Linked DNA regions of Homo sapiens: regions 1 and 2 are each linked to region 3. The links are contacts of gene promoters, found by promoter capture Hi-C in human tissues and cell types (Jung and others, 2019). All regions are on one chromosome and are shown on one strand. The core of a region is centred on a gene start or on the middle of the fragment in contact, and the rest is flanking DNA. Distances in the headings are between cores, read along the strand shown. Region 1 has its middle 6.0 kb from the start of LINC01315. Region 2 overlaps POLDIP3 (DNA polymerase delta interacting protein 3). Region 3 holds the start of CCDC134 (coiled-coil domain containing 134).

Region 1 (4,404 bases), core at 1,762-4,261, 570 kb before region 3:
ACCAAGCAGTTTACTGAATCCTCTCATTTCTTTGACCTCTTCAAACTGAATCAGTTCACACACATCCATCTCCCCCCAGAATTCCCGTGTTTCCCAAGCATGGCAAACACCTCATTTGTCTCTCTTTGTCTGTGCCTGACTCACAGTAGGGGCTTAGGAGCTGTTTGTTCAAAAAATAAAGGAGTCTTTTCCTTTGCTGTTGATTCAACACCTGTTCTTAGTGAAAAAGGGATAATTTTTTTTTTTATTTCCAGGAAGTGATCTTTAATTAGTATATGACCCATTTTACATATGTGAAAATTGAGGCAGACTGTTGCTGCACCCACAACACCAGGAGAAGCAAGGCAATAAGAAGTGCAGGCTCTGGAAGGCCGGCAGCCTCCGCCTAATGGGGAGGGCGGGGAGGCTCTGTGCTGAGCTGTTGGAGGCGAGGCCAGGCACAGGGGAAAGGCCGACATCCCCCTCCCCCACCTCCTTTCAATTCCTGGCTGCCAAGGCTGTCAAGAGGCTCTGAGGACACGTGCCTGCGTCAGGGGCCATGAGCCCTGTTAGGGTGGTTCTGCTAATTGATCCCAGAAGCCCTTGTGACTGCCAGGGGATGCCTCAGCGGACTCAGCAATGTCCTGACCGCTACCTCTCGCCTCACCAGATGGCCTCCCTCCTGCCTCAGCTGCCTCTAGGCCAGGCCACATGTCCCTGATCATTCAGGGCCTGAGACTCCCCCAAGTAGCCAGCAGAACAGAGCCCGGCCAGGGGTGGTGGCGGGGGTGTGTGGGGAGCACTGGAGAAGCTCCTTTTTTTCTGTGTCTCTCTGGCTGATTGGATGGTTTTCCAAAAAGAAAAATTTTAATGTGTTTTCGGTTTGGTTTTTTTTTTTTTTTTTTTTTTTTGAGACAGGGTCTCACTCTGTCATCCAGGCTGGAGTGCAGTGGTGCGATCACAGCTCACTGCAGCCTCAACCTCTGTGCTCCAGCGGTCCTCTACCTCAGCCTCCGGAGTAGCTGGCACTACAGGTGCGCACCATCACACCTGGCTAATTTTTTGTATTTTTCATAGAGACCGGGTTTTGCCGTGTTGCCCAGGCTGGTCTCAAACTCCTGAGCTCAAGCGATCCTGCCACCTTGGCCTCCCAAATGCTGGGATTACCGGCATAAGCCATTGCTGCTTAGCCAGCACTCAGCCTCAAATGCCCCCACAACTTCCTCCAGCAGCCCCACAATCTCCTGCCCCTTATGGGTGGGGAACCCTGGCATGTCATGTGACGGGGGTGGAGTCAGGAGAGCTGCTGTCCTTCCTGACCCATTGGGACAAGTCTGTGCAGCTGAGTCCCAGGGATAAGGGTAGGACCCACAGCCAAGTGACCAGTTCCAGAAATAGAGATGGTCATTGTGGTGCTCAAGGCACCCCTGCCTTCTTCCTGGGTTCAAGCCTGGAGCTCAAGATTGGAGTTCAAGGTTGCAGAGAGCTTTAGAACTGCTAATGGGGGCCAGGCGCAGTGGCCCACGCCTGGCCAACATGGGTGAAACCCTATCGCAACTAAAAATACAAAAATTATCCAGACAGCCGGGCACGGTGGCTCACGCCTGTAATCCTAGCACTTTGGGAGGCCAAGGCAGGTGGATCATCGAGGTCAGGAGTTCGAGACCAGCCTGGCCAACATGGTGAAACCATATCTCTACTAAAAATATAAAAATTAGCTGGGCGTGATGGTGGGCGCCTATAATCCCAGCTACTCAGGAGGCTGAGGCAGGAGAATTGCTTGAACCCAGGAGACTGAGGTTGCAGTGAGCCGACAGGGTGCCACTGCCCTCCAGCCTGGGCGACAGAGTGAGACTCTGTCTCAAAAAAAAAAAAAAAAAAAAAGAACTGCTGGCCGGGCACGGTGGCTCACACCTGTAATCAGCACTTTGGGAGGCCAAGGTGGGCGGATCATGAGGTCAGGAGATCGAGACCATCCTGGCTAACACGGTGAAACCCCACCTCTACTAAAAATACAAAAAATTAGCCGGGCGTGGTGACGGGTCCGTGTAGTTCCAGCTACTTGGGAGGCTGAGGCAGGAGAGTGGCGTGAACCCGGGAGACAGAGCTTGCAGTGAGCCGAGATAGCGCCATTGCACTCCAGCCTGGGCGACAGAGCAAGACTCTGTCTCAAAAAAAAAAAAAAAAAAAAGAACTGCTAATGGGTATGGGGATTTTTTATGAGGTAATGGAAATGTTCTGGAATGCGACAGCAGTGATGGTTACGCAACCTCTTGAATATGCTAAAATCCATTGAATTGTACACTTTAAAAGGGTAAATTTATAATATGTGAATTGCATTTCAATAACACAAAACAAAAATAAACCAAAAAAAATTGCCCTACTTAAACACTTTCTGTTGTCCCCTGTTCATTACCCTTAGGACAGAGCACACACACACTTCCCTGGGACGTGGTTCAGCTTCTTCCTCCACCCAGCCTGCCCTGCCCGTACCCTTTCCTGCCCTTCCTCCTTTCCTCCTACAGAAGGGCCCTGCTGGGGCCTCTTTCAAGGTCCAGGCTCTGGCGCATGAAACTCCCTCTACCTGTCAGATGGTTAAATGCCTATTCAGTTTTTATCTGTGGCAATAAGTAGGCATTGATCTCATTTCACAGATGAGGAAACTGAGCCTTAAAAAGATATAACAACTCGCCCAAAGTCACCTAGCTGGCAGATGGTGCAGTTGAGATTCAGGCCCCAGCAGTGGCTTCAGAATCCATGATCTGAACCACTTTGGTTGGTGGCTTTCTGTGGTAGCCTGAAGAATCCCACCCTCGCCAAGATATCCACATCCTAATCCTGGAACCTGTGAATGTTACCTTATATGACAAAGGCGCCGCAGATGTGATTAAGGATCTGGAGATGAGGAGGTTATCCTGGATCATTACAATCACAAACGCCCTTATAAAGGGGGATGCAGAGGGAGATTACAGACCAAAGGCAGAAGGTGGTGTGATGATGGAAGCAGAGAAAGAGGTCTGAAGATGGTACGCCGCTGGTTTTGAACATGGAAGAAGAGGCCACAGCCGGGGAACAGAGCCCCAGAAGCAGGAGAGGGCAAGGAAACGGATACTCCTCAAAGCTTCTGGAGGGAACGTGGCCCTGTGAACACCCTGGTTTCTGCCTGTTGAAACTGATTCTGAATTTCCGGTCTTGAGAACTGTAAGAAAATAAATGTGTGTCGTGTTGTGGGTTTTTAAAAAATAATTTTTTTCTTTCTTTTTTCTCCCGGCTTTTCAATAGGGATAACGTGTGTTGTTTTAAGTCACCAGGTTTGTGGTGATTAGTTACAGCAGCCATAGAAAATGAAGACACTGGCCAGGCTCACGCCTGTAATCCCAGCACTTTGGGAGGCTGAGGGCAGGTGGATCACCTGAAGTCAGGAGTTTGAGACCAGCCTGGCCAACATGGCGAAACCTGTCTCTACTAAAAATAGAAAAATTAGCTGGGTGTAGTGGTGCATGCCTGTAGTCCCAGTACTCAGGAGGCTGAGGCAGGAGAATCGCTTGAACCTGGGAGATGGCGGTTGCAATGAGCCAAGATTGCGCCATTGCACTCCAGCCTGGGCGACAGAGCAAGACTCCGTCTCAAGGAAAAAAAAAGAAAAGAAAATGAAGACACTTTCCCTCCTAGAAGAGCCTATTCTGCCTCCCAGGCTGGGCCCCTCTCTGAGAGGCTCTTCTGCCCCGAGGTCAGTGGCCCACCCTGTTTTGTGCTCCTTGGGGATGCTTCCTATGACCTCTGACCCTGGAGCTTGCCTCGGTCATGACCTCCATGCTCACCCTGACCTTGGGCCTCTTCTACGGCTCCCAGCACTGACTTCACCAGGCTGGAGTCATCTTCCAGTTGTTCAGGGGCAGGCACCAGCTCTGGGGCAGTGTGGAAGAGGAAAGTGAGGCTTGGAGGGGGGCACTGAATGCTCAAGATCACTCAGCTGGCAAGAGGCAGAGCCGCTGAATGTGTGGCCATGAGATGACCAGGGCACCCAAGCCGAAGGGCTCGTGAGGAAAGAGGCCACACTGGCTGCCCACTGCCCCTAGGTTCCAATCCCGGCACCCATCTGGGCCCACATAGAATTGGACCATTCCTGGTGGGCTTGGCTTTAGGAAAACCTGATAGCAAATTCCAAACCAATAAGAGCAAATAAATGAGGGGTGATTACCGACAATAAGAGAGGATACACTGCAGGGTGCCTCCAAATCGCATCTCCTCCAGTACGTTTTAAGTGCTTTATAGGTCATTAACTACTTGACAGAGAGAGCCTGACACTTAAAGCAAAGAATTTGGTACCTCTGCCAGGGAAAATCAATCAGAAATGAAGCTAGAGCATCAGAGGCGTTAAGATTTACTGGGTAGGCCAACGGGATTCAATTGACGCAGAATTTT
Region 2 (4,738 bases), core at 1,126-3,625, 800 kb before region 3:
GGAGGCAGGGTTACAGCGAACTTTTTGCAATTTGAGTTTAAAGAAGAAATTTTTTTTATTTTTTTATTTTTTGAGACGGAGTCTCGCTCTGTCGCTAGGCTGGAGTGCAGTGGCGTAATCTCGGCTCACTGCAACCTCTGCCTCCCGGGTTCAAGTGATTCTCCTGCCTCAGCCTCCTGAGTATCTGGGACTACAGGCGCGTACCACCACACCCAGCTAATTTTTGTATTTTTAGTAGAGATGGGGTTTCACCATGTTGGCTAGGATGGTCTCAATTTCTTGACCTTGTGATCCCCCCGCCTCAGCCTCCCAAAGTGCTGGGATTACAGGCGTGAGCCACCACACCCAGCCAAGAAGAAACTTCTTAATAGAGGAAGGGAGGCATAGGGGGCAGAGAGGCTAAAAAAAGTTTTGTTTGTTTTTTTTAATTTTTTTACGCTTTTTTTTTTTTTGTCTTTTGTTTTGTTTTTTTTTCCTTTTTCTGGAGAACGGGGTCTCGCTATATTGCCCAGGCAGGTCTCGAACTCCTGGGCTCAAGCTATCCTCCCGCCTCTTAGCCTCCCTGAGAGCTGGGATTACAGGTGTGAGCCACCGCGCCCGGCCTAATTTTTTTAAATAAAAGTTCTATGTGCTTAATATAGAAAACTTGCCAAAAAGTCCCTCAAGTTCCTATTCTCCAAAGCCAGTCACTGTTGAAATTTTGCCATAGTTCCTTACATGTACGCTTCTTTTTTTTTGATACAGGGTTTCACTCTGTCCCCCAGGCTGGAGTGCAGTGGTGCAGTCATGGCTCACTGCAGCCTTGAGTTTCTGGGCTCAAATGATCCTCCCACCTCAGCCTCCTGAGTAGCTGGGATCACAGGTGCATACCACCACATCTGGCTAATTTTTGTAGAGATGGAGTCTTGTCATGTTGCCCAGGCTGGTCTCGAACTCCTGGGTTCAATCGATCCTCCTGCCTCTGCCTCCCAAGTAGCTGGGATTACAAGCATGAGTCACCGCGCCTGGCTAATTTTGTATTTTTAGTAGAGACGGTGTTTCTCCATGTTGGTCAGGCTGATCTCGAACTCCTGACCTCAGGTAATTCGCCCACCTTGGCCTCCCAAAGTGCTGGGATTACAGGCGTGAGCCACTGTGCCCAGCCCCAGTCTGTTTTTTACTTAACTCATAGTTGTGGTTGTGGTTATATATTCTTTTTTTTTTTTTGAGACCGAGTCTCGCTCTGTCACTCAGACTGGAGTGCAGTGGCACGATCTCGGCTCACTGCAAGCTCCGCCTCCCGGGTTCACACCATTCTCCTGCCTCAGCCTCCCGAGTAGCTGGGACTACAGGCGCATGCCACCATGCCCGGCTCATTGTTTGTATTTTTCGTAGAGACGGGGTTTCACCATGTTAGCCAGGATGATCTCGATCTCCTGACCTCGTGATCCGCCCTCCTCGGCCTCCCAAAGTGCTGGGATGACAGGCTTGAGCCACTGAGCCCAGCCATGGTTATATTCTTATCCAATTTTGTATCATTCTTTTTTCACTTTGTAACTCAAGCATTTCTCTGTGACATTTCATATTTACTGTACATGTTTTAGTAACTGCAAAATCTATATAGTTGGCATTCCAGTTTTATTTAAACCATTTTCCTGTCATTTTCACTGTTAGAAATCCTTCTGCTGTGAACATCTTTGTAAATAAAGCTCTTTCTAGGGTTTGGATTTATTTCTGTAGGTCATATTAACAAGGATGGACTTTCCAAGCCAAAGGATATAAAGAAACATTTTAGGGACTCTTGGTACATACTGCCCACTGGGAAAAAGGGACTTCTGATGTATCTGGAAGTTGTAGGACTTTCACTGGGTCCTTGCTGACAGGGAGTTAGCCTGTGAAGACTTGGGCCCCAGTCTTTCCAGGCACCGTCACCCCTGTGCCCACTTCTCCTTGGTCCCTTTGTTTCTCCAGCAGCCATTTCCTTGCCATGCCTGTTCTAGATGTCTGTTGAGGGCCCAGATGCCACATTTGCTTATATTTCTTTATGTTATATTCTCAGAATTTATATGACCTGGATGAAGATGATGATGGTATAGCTTCCGTTCCTACTAAACAGATGAAGTTTGCAGCCTCAGGCGGCTTTCTCCACCACATGGTATGGCATTTCATGTTTTCTTACACTGCGTGTCTGATCAGGCAGGTGGGAGAGGTCGTGTTGAATAGAACCTGTTGTTTTTTTTGTTTTGAGACGACATCTCGCTCTTCTCCCCCAGGCTGCTGGAGTGCAATGGCGCAATCTTGGCTCACTGCAACCTCCGTCTCCTGGGTTCAAGCTATTATCCTGCCTCAGCCTCCCTAGTAGCTGGGATTACAGGCGCCTGCCGCCACGCCCAGCTAATTTTTGTATTTTTAGTAGAGATGAGGTTTCACCATGTTGGCCAGGCTGGTCTCAAACTCCTGACCTCAGGTGATCCGCACGCCTCGGCCTCCCAAGGTGCTGGGATTACAGGCGTAAGCCACTGCGCCCGGCGTGAATAGAGCCTTTCAATGCAGAAATATTTCTTTGTTTGGGCCGTAAGATTTTCAGAGCTGGAACTAGTCCATTCCCTTAGTTTTATAAACGCTGAGACACTGGGGTGCCTTCTGATTTGTTCAAGGTCCCACAGCAAGTGAAGTACAGGGCTGCAGCTCCTAGGTGCTGTGTTTGAGACACTATAGGGAAAGTGTGAGTGATCCCACAGTGGGGAGTCTGTGTTCTTTCCTTGGTGGCTGGCCATTCTGCATGCTTCGTAACCCTTTGTGGTCAGCAGCTCTGGCGCTGCTCTTGGAGTCTGGATTCCGTTGGTTAACATTAGCAGGAATACATCTCACCTGATCTGTGGGCTCTACCAGGTGCAGCCTGCATGCAGGGAAAGCTTGCTAGGCTAGAGTGTTGGTCAGACATCATGCAGAGAAGGAAAGAAAACAACATCTGGGATCATCAGGGAGGTCCATGCTGCTCAGCTCAGTGGTACAGCCAAGTGTCAGACAGGGAGGCCAGTGGGCTGCCTAGGTGGGTCCTTGTGGCAGCCACCTCTTTTGTTTTTCCTTCAGACGCTCAAAGACTCAGTTTTGGTTACTGTCCTGAGTATGTGGACCAGCCTCCTGGTTAGTAATTAAGAGAAATATGGGCCAGGTGCGGTGGCTCACGCCTGTAATCTCAACACTTTGGGAGGCAGAGGCGGGCAGATCACAAGGTCAGGAGATGGAAACCATCCTGGCTAGCACGGTGAAACCACGTCTCTACTAAAAAATACAAAAAAGTTCGGGCGTGGTGGCTCACGCCTGTAATCCCAGCACTTTCGGAGGCCGAGGTGGGTGGATCACGAAGTCAGGAGATCGAGACCATCCTGGCAAACATGGTGAAACCCCGTCTCTACTAAAAATACCAAAAAATTAGCCAGGCGTGGTGGTGTGCGCCTGTAGTCCCAGCTACTCTAGAGGCTGAGGCAGGAGAATGGCACGAACCCAGGAGGTGGAGCTTGCAGTGAGCCAAGAGGCGCCACTGCACTCCAGCCTGGGCGACAGAGCGAGACTCTGTCTCAAAAAAAAAAAAAAAAAAAATATCCGGGGTGTGGTGGCGGGCACCTGCAGTCCCAGCTACTCGGGAGGCTGAGGCAGGAGAATGGTGTGAACCTGGGAGGCAGAGCTTACAGTGAGCCGAGATTGTGCCACTGCACTCCAGCCTGGGCGACAGAGTGAGACTCTGTCTCAAAAAAAAAAGAAACATGAAGCTGGCTCGGCGTGGTGGCTCACGCCTGTAATCCCAGCACTTTGGGAGGCTGAGGTGGGCAGATTACCTGAGGTCAGGAGTTGGAGACCAGCTTGGCAACATGGTGAAATCCCGTCTCTACTAAAAATAAAAAATTAGCTGGGCATGATGGCGCGTGCCTGTAATCCCAGCTGCTCGGGAGGCTGAGGCAGGAGAATTGTTTGAACCCCGAGGTGGAGGTTGCAGTGAGCCAAGATTGCGCCACTGCACTCCAGCCTGGGTGACAGGGCGAGACTCCGTCTCAAAAAAAAAAAAAAAAAAGAGGTCGTGAAGCTGAATGATGCCAGTTTGTTTCTTTACAAAGGGACCAGGCCTTTCCAGTAATTAGACTGCTCAAGTCTGCTATCAAGGGAACTATCAGCTTGCTCAGTGAGTCTCTATCCCTATTTGATACCCTAATTGAATAAATGCCATATTTATACTCATGCGTCTTGTACCCTGTGAGATGGGTACTGTTGATTACCCTCGTTGATGGATGAGGGACAGGCATGGAGAGGTGAAATAAGCCTGTTCAACATCACCCAGCTGATGAGAAGCAGTGGATCTAGGAATGGAGCCCGAGCAGTCTCGCTCTCAGGGCCCTGTGTGGAGTCACTGTGCTGTCCCAGCTCTGGAGACGCAGAATTCCACATGAGGAATGTGGAATTCAGCATGGGGATGACGCTGCTTCACCCAGACTTGGAGGAGCGTGGTGAATTGCCCGTGCCCATGCTCTGATGTGCCTCTCTGGCCGCTGCGTTCCTCCTTTCTCCCTGCCCTGGGTCAGTGCCTGTAAACACTGCCCTAAATCAGCAGGGCCCCCGTCACTTCTGCTTTATGCACCTTTTTCCTCAGACACATTAATACAGGGGAGTTTTGTTTCCAAGGGACCACATCCAGATGGAGGGGCTGTTTTTGGTGATCTGCACTGCCAAATGCCCGAGTGTCCCTGACAGTCGGAGCTGATGA
Region 3 (4,310 bases), core at 626-3,125:
AGGTGATCCGCCCGCCTTGGCGGTTGCCCAGGCTGGTCTTGAACTTCTGGACTCAAGTGATACTCCCTCCTTGACCTCCCAAAGTACTGGGATTACAGACGTGAGCCCCTGCTCCCAACCACTACAAGGGTTTTGACACTGACTCCTAGTCACCAGTCTCCAACTGGAGACTCCTAGTCTCCAACATGGCAAGAGACCAACAACCCAAGATAGGTCCGTCCCAGCACTGAGGGACCTAACTACAGGATGACTGATCAGTAAAGTTTTTGGAGAAAGATCTTGACCAAAAGGGGGAAATATGAAAGTTGTTAGAATCAAAACAGAGTCGTTTGTGTTAAAAACTCTGACAAATTTAAAGCATGATTCTCCAATGGGAAAAAACAAGAACAACAACTCTGACAAATAAAACCGAGGAAGGTTGTGAAAAGAGGGTTCTTATGCACAAATGACTGATAACAAGATCACAAAAAATGCAAAAACCACAACCCTGCACAAAGGCCACTGCAAACTTACACAGAAAAATCTTTCTGTGAGGACATCTGCCCTGCAACTGCCTGTCCAACCTCAGACTAGCACCACTCTTGCTATTCATCCTTGTAGCCAAGGATAACTATCTCAAAATAATCATGTAATCCTCATTTTTCCTTTTCAAAACCTTTGTCTTCCTTTACCTCCCCAAATACGTACACAGGTTACTATGGCACACATATTGTCACTACAATGTCTATTCCCAAGTAAACATCATTTTTTTAGAGTCTCTCACTCTGCTATTTAGGTTGACAGTACCTACCACACTCTAGGCACTGTTCTAGAGGCGGGAATACAGCAATAAATAAGCAAAAATCTCTGCACTCATGGTACTTGTCTCTAGTAGGGATAAGAGTTGATCAATAAACTTGTAAAATAAGCACAGAGGGATGAGAGGGTGTCGGTCAGGTACAAGATTACATAAAGTGGTCAGGAGAGGTCTCACACTCAGATTACAACTCCCCAATGTTACCAATGTGAAATCAAGGCACAGAAAAATGAGGTGACTGCCCAAAGTCACACAGCTATTCCCAGGCTGAACCAAGTGTCTGTTTGGCTCTAAGTCCAGTGCTCTGTCTTCTGACTCTTTGTAAATGAGCACAGGCTACCTGAGATCAGAGCTGGCTACTGAACTACCAGGACACCTGCCCCAGGGGAGAGATGCTCAGTTACAGACAGTGAGGGGCTGCAGAGATCATCCGGAGAACCCCCTACCCCCAAGCAGACGAGATAAGTGAAACCTAGAGAAGGAATAGTCCAAGTTCACCCAGGACCCTCCACATTCCACCTCCTGCTCCAAACTCAAGGGAACCAGAACCAGGCTAGGGCAAAACTTTAGGGGCCAAGGAGAATACCAGACAGCTGGCAATGACTGAAGCAGGTAGTGGGAAAGAAAAGCCAGAACAGCAGCCTGCGGGACAGGTCCTGCTTTCTCTACTGTTAAACTCACTTTTTCAGCCTCTCAATCCCGATCCTGCCGTATGCGTCACCCGGAGCTCCTCCTGGCTCAGCATGAGGCTCTGAACTCCTGCAGAGGTACCAGGTAGTGGCGGGCCTTGAGCCAGCTACCGGGGTCGGGGGCCCAGGTGGTTGACCCCGAGCCTTCGGAGCTCCCGGAGGAGGGAGCGAGCCTTCTCAAGGAACAGAGGCGTCCAGGTCCACGAAACTCCCTCCCCACCACCTGCAGCCGGTTCGAGGCCCTCGGTTCTCTCATTATCCTTCCCGGGAACCTGCAGCCCGCGGCCCCTACAGCCACCTACCTGGCCAGTCGGTGCAGGAAGGGCAGGTGGCCGAGTCCTGTGCGAGCAGCTAGGCTCGAAGGTCCAACAGGCTAACAGCAAAGCAACTGAAAGCGGGAGCAAACGGCTAGCAACCGAGCGCAGACCGCCGAGCTCCGTCCCGCCCACCGCGCTGCTCCCGGCCAATGAGCGCGAGCCGCCACTGCGGGGCTCCGCTAGCCTCACTTCCGGCCCCGCTCCACCGCCCCTGCCTGCCCCTCCAGGCTCTGGCGTGCCTCCAGCGCGCTGTGGGCACCATCCTCGTCCTGTCCCTCCTGCGGGCCCTGGGTACGTGGCCCTGGATTTAGCTTGTGTTGGAGGAAGTTAAATCTGTGGGTGGGGTCTGTGCCCAATTTAAGGCGTGAATCAGCAAACTGGGGTCCCAGCTCCTGTCGGCCGGGCGACCTTCTGCGCGCCCTCCCTGAAACTGTGTCGTCGTCTGTGGCCGAGTTTTTAAACTTTAGATCGCAACGTGAGTTTAGTGGGCGGTGACTAGCACTTTTGTTCTTCTTTAAGGACCTCAGAGACTCAGTGCAGGATTCGGGCATCCCCTCCTTGCCCCTCCGGTCCACCAACTAATAAGCCAAGTGCGGCGGGGGCTTCCTCGTCCGTTCGTTAGGCCGAGTGCAGCCCCACTTTTGCGCAGGATCAGGACAGTCAGACCCGAGAAGGCAGCGTGGCGTGGCCATCTCCGGGCCCGGGGCCCCTGCCGGGCGGGAAGGGAGCTGGAGGCCCGGTCTGGGCTGAGCTCCCCAGAACAGGCGCAGGGCAGGCACTGTCGAGCGCAGACCTCATGCCGGGGACCAAGCTGGACATGCATTCCCAGGATCTACCCACGAGGGTGCATAAACACCAGTTCTGATGACGGCTGTACGGGAAGGGACAGAGGTGACCTACTTTAGCCAGACAAGGGCTGAGGCTGGGACAGTTTCGTTCTGATAGGAAAGCTGAGAATTTGACCCTCCTTGCCTGGAAAGTTTACCTCTATCCACCTCCACGTGAGGCGAGGGAGCAGGTCAAGTGCCTCTGGGAGCTGTTGAATCGCAGCAGCCCCAACCCCTAGGCCTTTCTCTGCCCTGCCAGCCCCAGGATGGCCTGACTGGTGTTCTCTGAGTACAGCTGAGGCACCCAGCTGACTCCTTGAATGCTGTTACAAGAACAAATCCTGTCCCGTCCCTCCTTCCCTGAGGAGGCCATCAGTCTCCTTGCTGAAACAATCCCTTATCCAACTGGCTGAGAAACCAGCTCCTGGTAGACAAGGTAGTACAGTGTTTTTGGAGAGCTCGCGCAGGTATGTGAGTGTATCATTTTATTTCCTTATTCTATTTCAACAATAGAGTATATGGCTCCATATGAATAGCTTCAGCTGTCATCCATTTCCCCAACAATTATGCCCTTTGTCTCCAGGTCTCATTCTCTCTCCACTTCTGGGCCTTCAAGTCCTGAGGATCAGTTTCTGATGTGGGACAGGGATACAGCCACCCCTCCCAGGCAGCTGGCAGCAAAACATGAGAGGAAAACAGCAGAGAAGTGGGGCCAACCATGGGGGCATCACACTTCCAGAGCCCAAAACAGTCAAGAATGGTCAGGCAAGAACAGAAGTGCTCCTGAGAATAGTGGGATGGATTCTGAAATTGGGTCCTGAACACCTGGGCTAGGTAGTTGCTATTCAACAGGGAACTATTGCACGGAAGGGGCAAGGAAGAGAGCCAGGGAGGCAGCCAGAGGGGTGCAGAGGAAGCAAACTACCCTCACACACACCTCTGGACTGCAGTATCTCTGGACTGCAGTGTCTCTGGGTGCAACCAGCCACCTACCAGAGGGTCTCTGACCACTGCCACAGCCCCAAGCTTGCTTTTTTTTTTTTTTTTTGAGACATAGTCTCACTCTGCCACCCAGGCTGGAGTGTGCAGTGGCACAATCTCGGCTCTCTGGTCACTGCAATCTCCACCTCCCAGGTTCAAGTGATTGTCCTGCCTCATCCTCCCAAGTAGCTTGGATTACAGGCATGCACCACCATGCCCGGCTAATTTTTGTATTTTTAGTAGAGATGGGGTTTTACCATGTAGGCCAGGCTCGTCTCAGAACTCCTGACCTCAAGTGATCCACTCACCTTGGCTGGGATTACAGTGTGAGCCACTGCGCCCGGCCCCCAAGCTTTCTTTTTTTTTGAGACGGAGTCTTGGTCTGTTGCCCAGGCTGGAGTACAGTGGCGCGATCTTGGCTCACTGCAGCCTCTGCCTCCCAGGTTCCAGTGATTCTCCTGCCTCAGCCTCCTGGGTAGCTGGGATTACAGGCTCATGCTACCACGCCCAGCTAATTTTTGTATTTTTTAGTAGAGATGGGGTTTCACCATGTTGGCCAGGCTGGTCTCAAACTCCTGAGCTCAGGTGATCTGCCCACCTTGGCCTCCCAAAGTGCTGGGATTACAGGCGTGAGCCACTGCACCCGGCCATCCAAGCTTTCTTAAGAACATGGAAGTCACACAGACACACACACATTGTG

What was found. Contacts are between HindIII fragments. The study calls those that stand out against the background at their distance.
Region 1: a contact is called between a fragment that was not itself captured here and the fragment with the promoter of CCDC134 in region 3, in 1 of the 25 tissues and cell types used here (mesenchymal stem cells).
Region 2: a fragment that was not itself captured here is called in contact with the fragment with the promoter of CCDC134 in region 3 in 1 of the 25 tissues and cell types used here (dorsolateral prefrontal cortex).

The regions. Positions count from the first base shown.
Region 1 is chr22:42,373,025-42,377,428 of GRCh38, reverse strand. No RefSeq gene overlaps it. Among named protein-coding and RNA genes, the nearest start is that of LINC01315, 6.0 kb to the right of the region's middle. The HindIII fragment of the contact is 4,774 bases long and covers 625-4,404 here.
Region 2 is chr22:42,597,094-42,601,831 of GRCh38, reverse strand. It overlaps POLDIP3 (DNA polymerase delta interacting protein 3), which reads left to right. Exons shown (of 9, transcript NM_032311.5): 4 at 2,039-2,134. Among named protein-coding and RNA genes, the nearest start is that of POLDIP3, 15 kb to the left of the region's middle. The HindIII fragment of the contact is 3,012 bases long and covers 870-3,881 here.
Region 3 is chr22:41,798,244-41,802,553 of GRCh38, reverse strand. It overlaps CCDC134 (coiled-coil domain containing 134), which reads right to left and starts at 1,875. Exons shown (of 7, transcript NM_024821.5): 1 at 1,788-1,875. MEI1 (meiotic double-stranded break formation protein 1) reads right to left here. Exons shown (of 31, transcript NM_152513.4): 31 at 3,100-3,300. The coding sequence ends at 3,255. RefSeq lists silencers at 1,853-1,912, 2,503-2,592 and enhancers at 2,063-2,142, 2,213-2,292, 2,068-3,054. The HindIII fragment of the contact is 18,239 bases long and covers 1-3,809 here.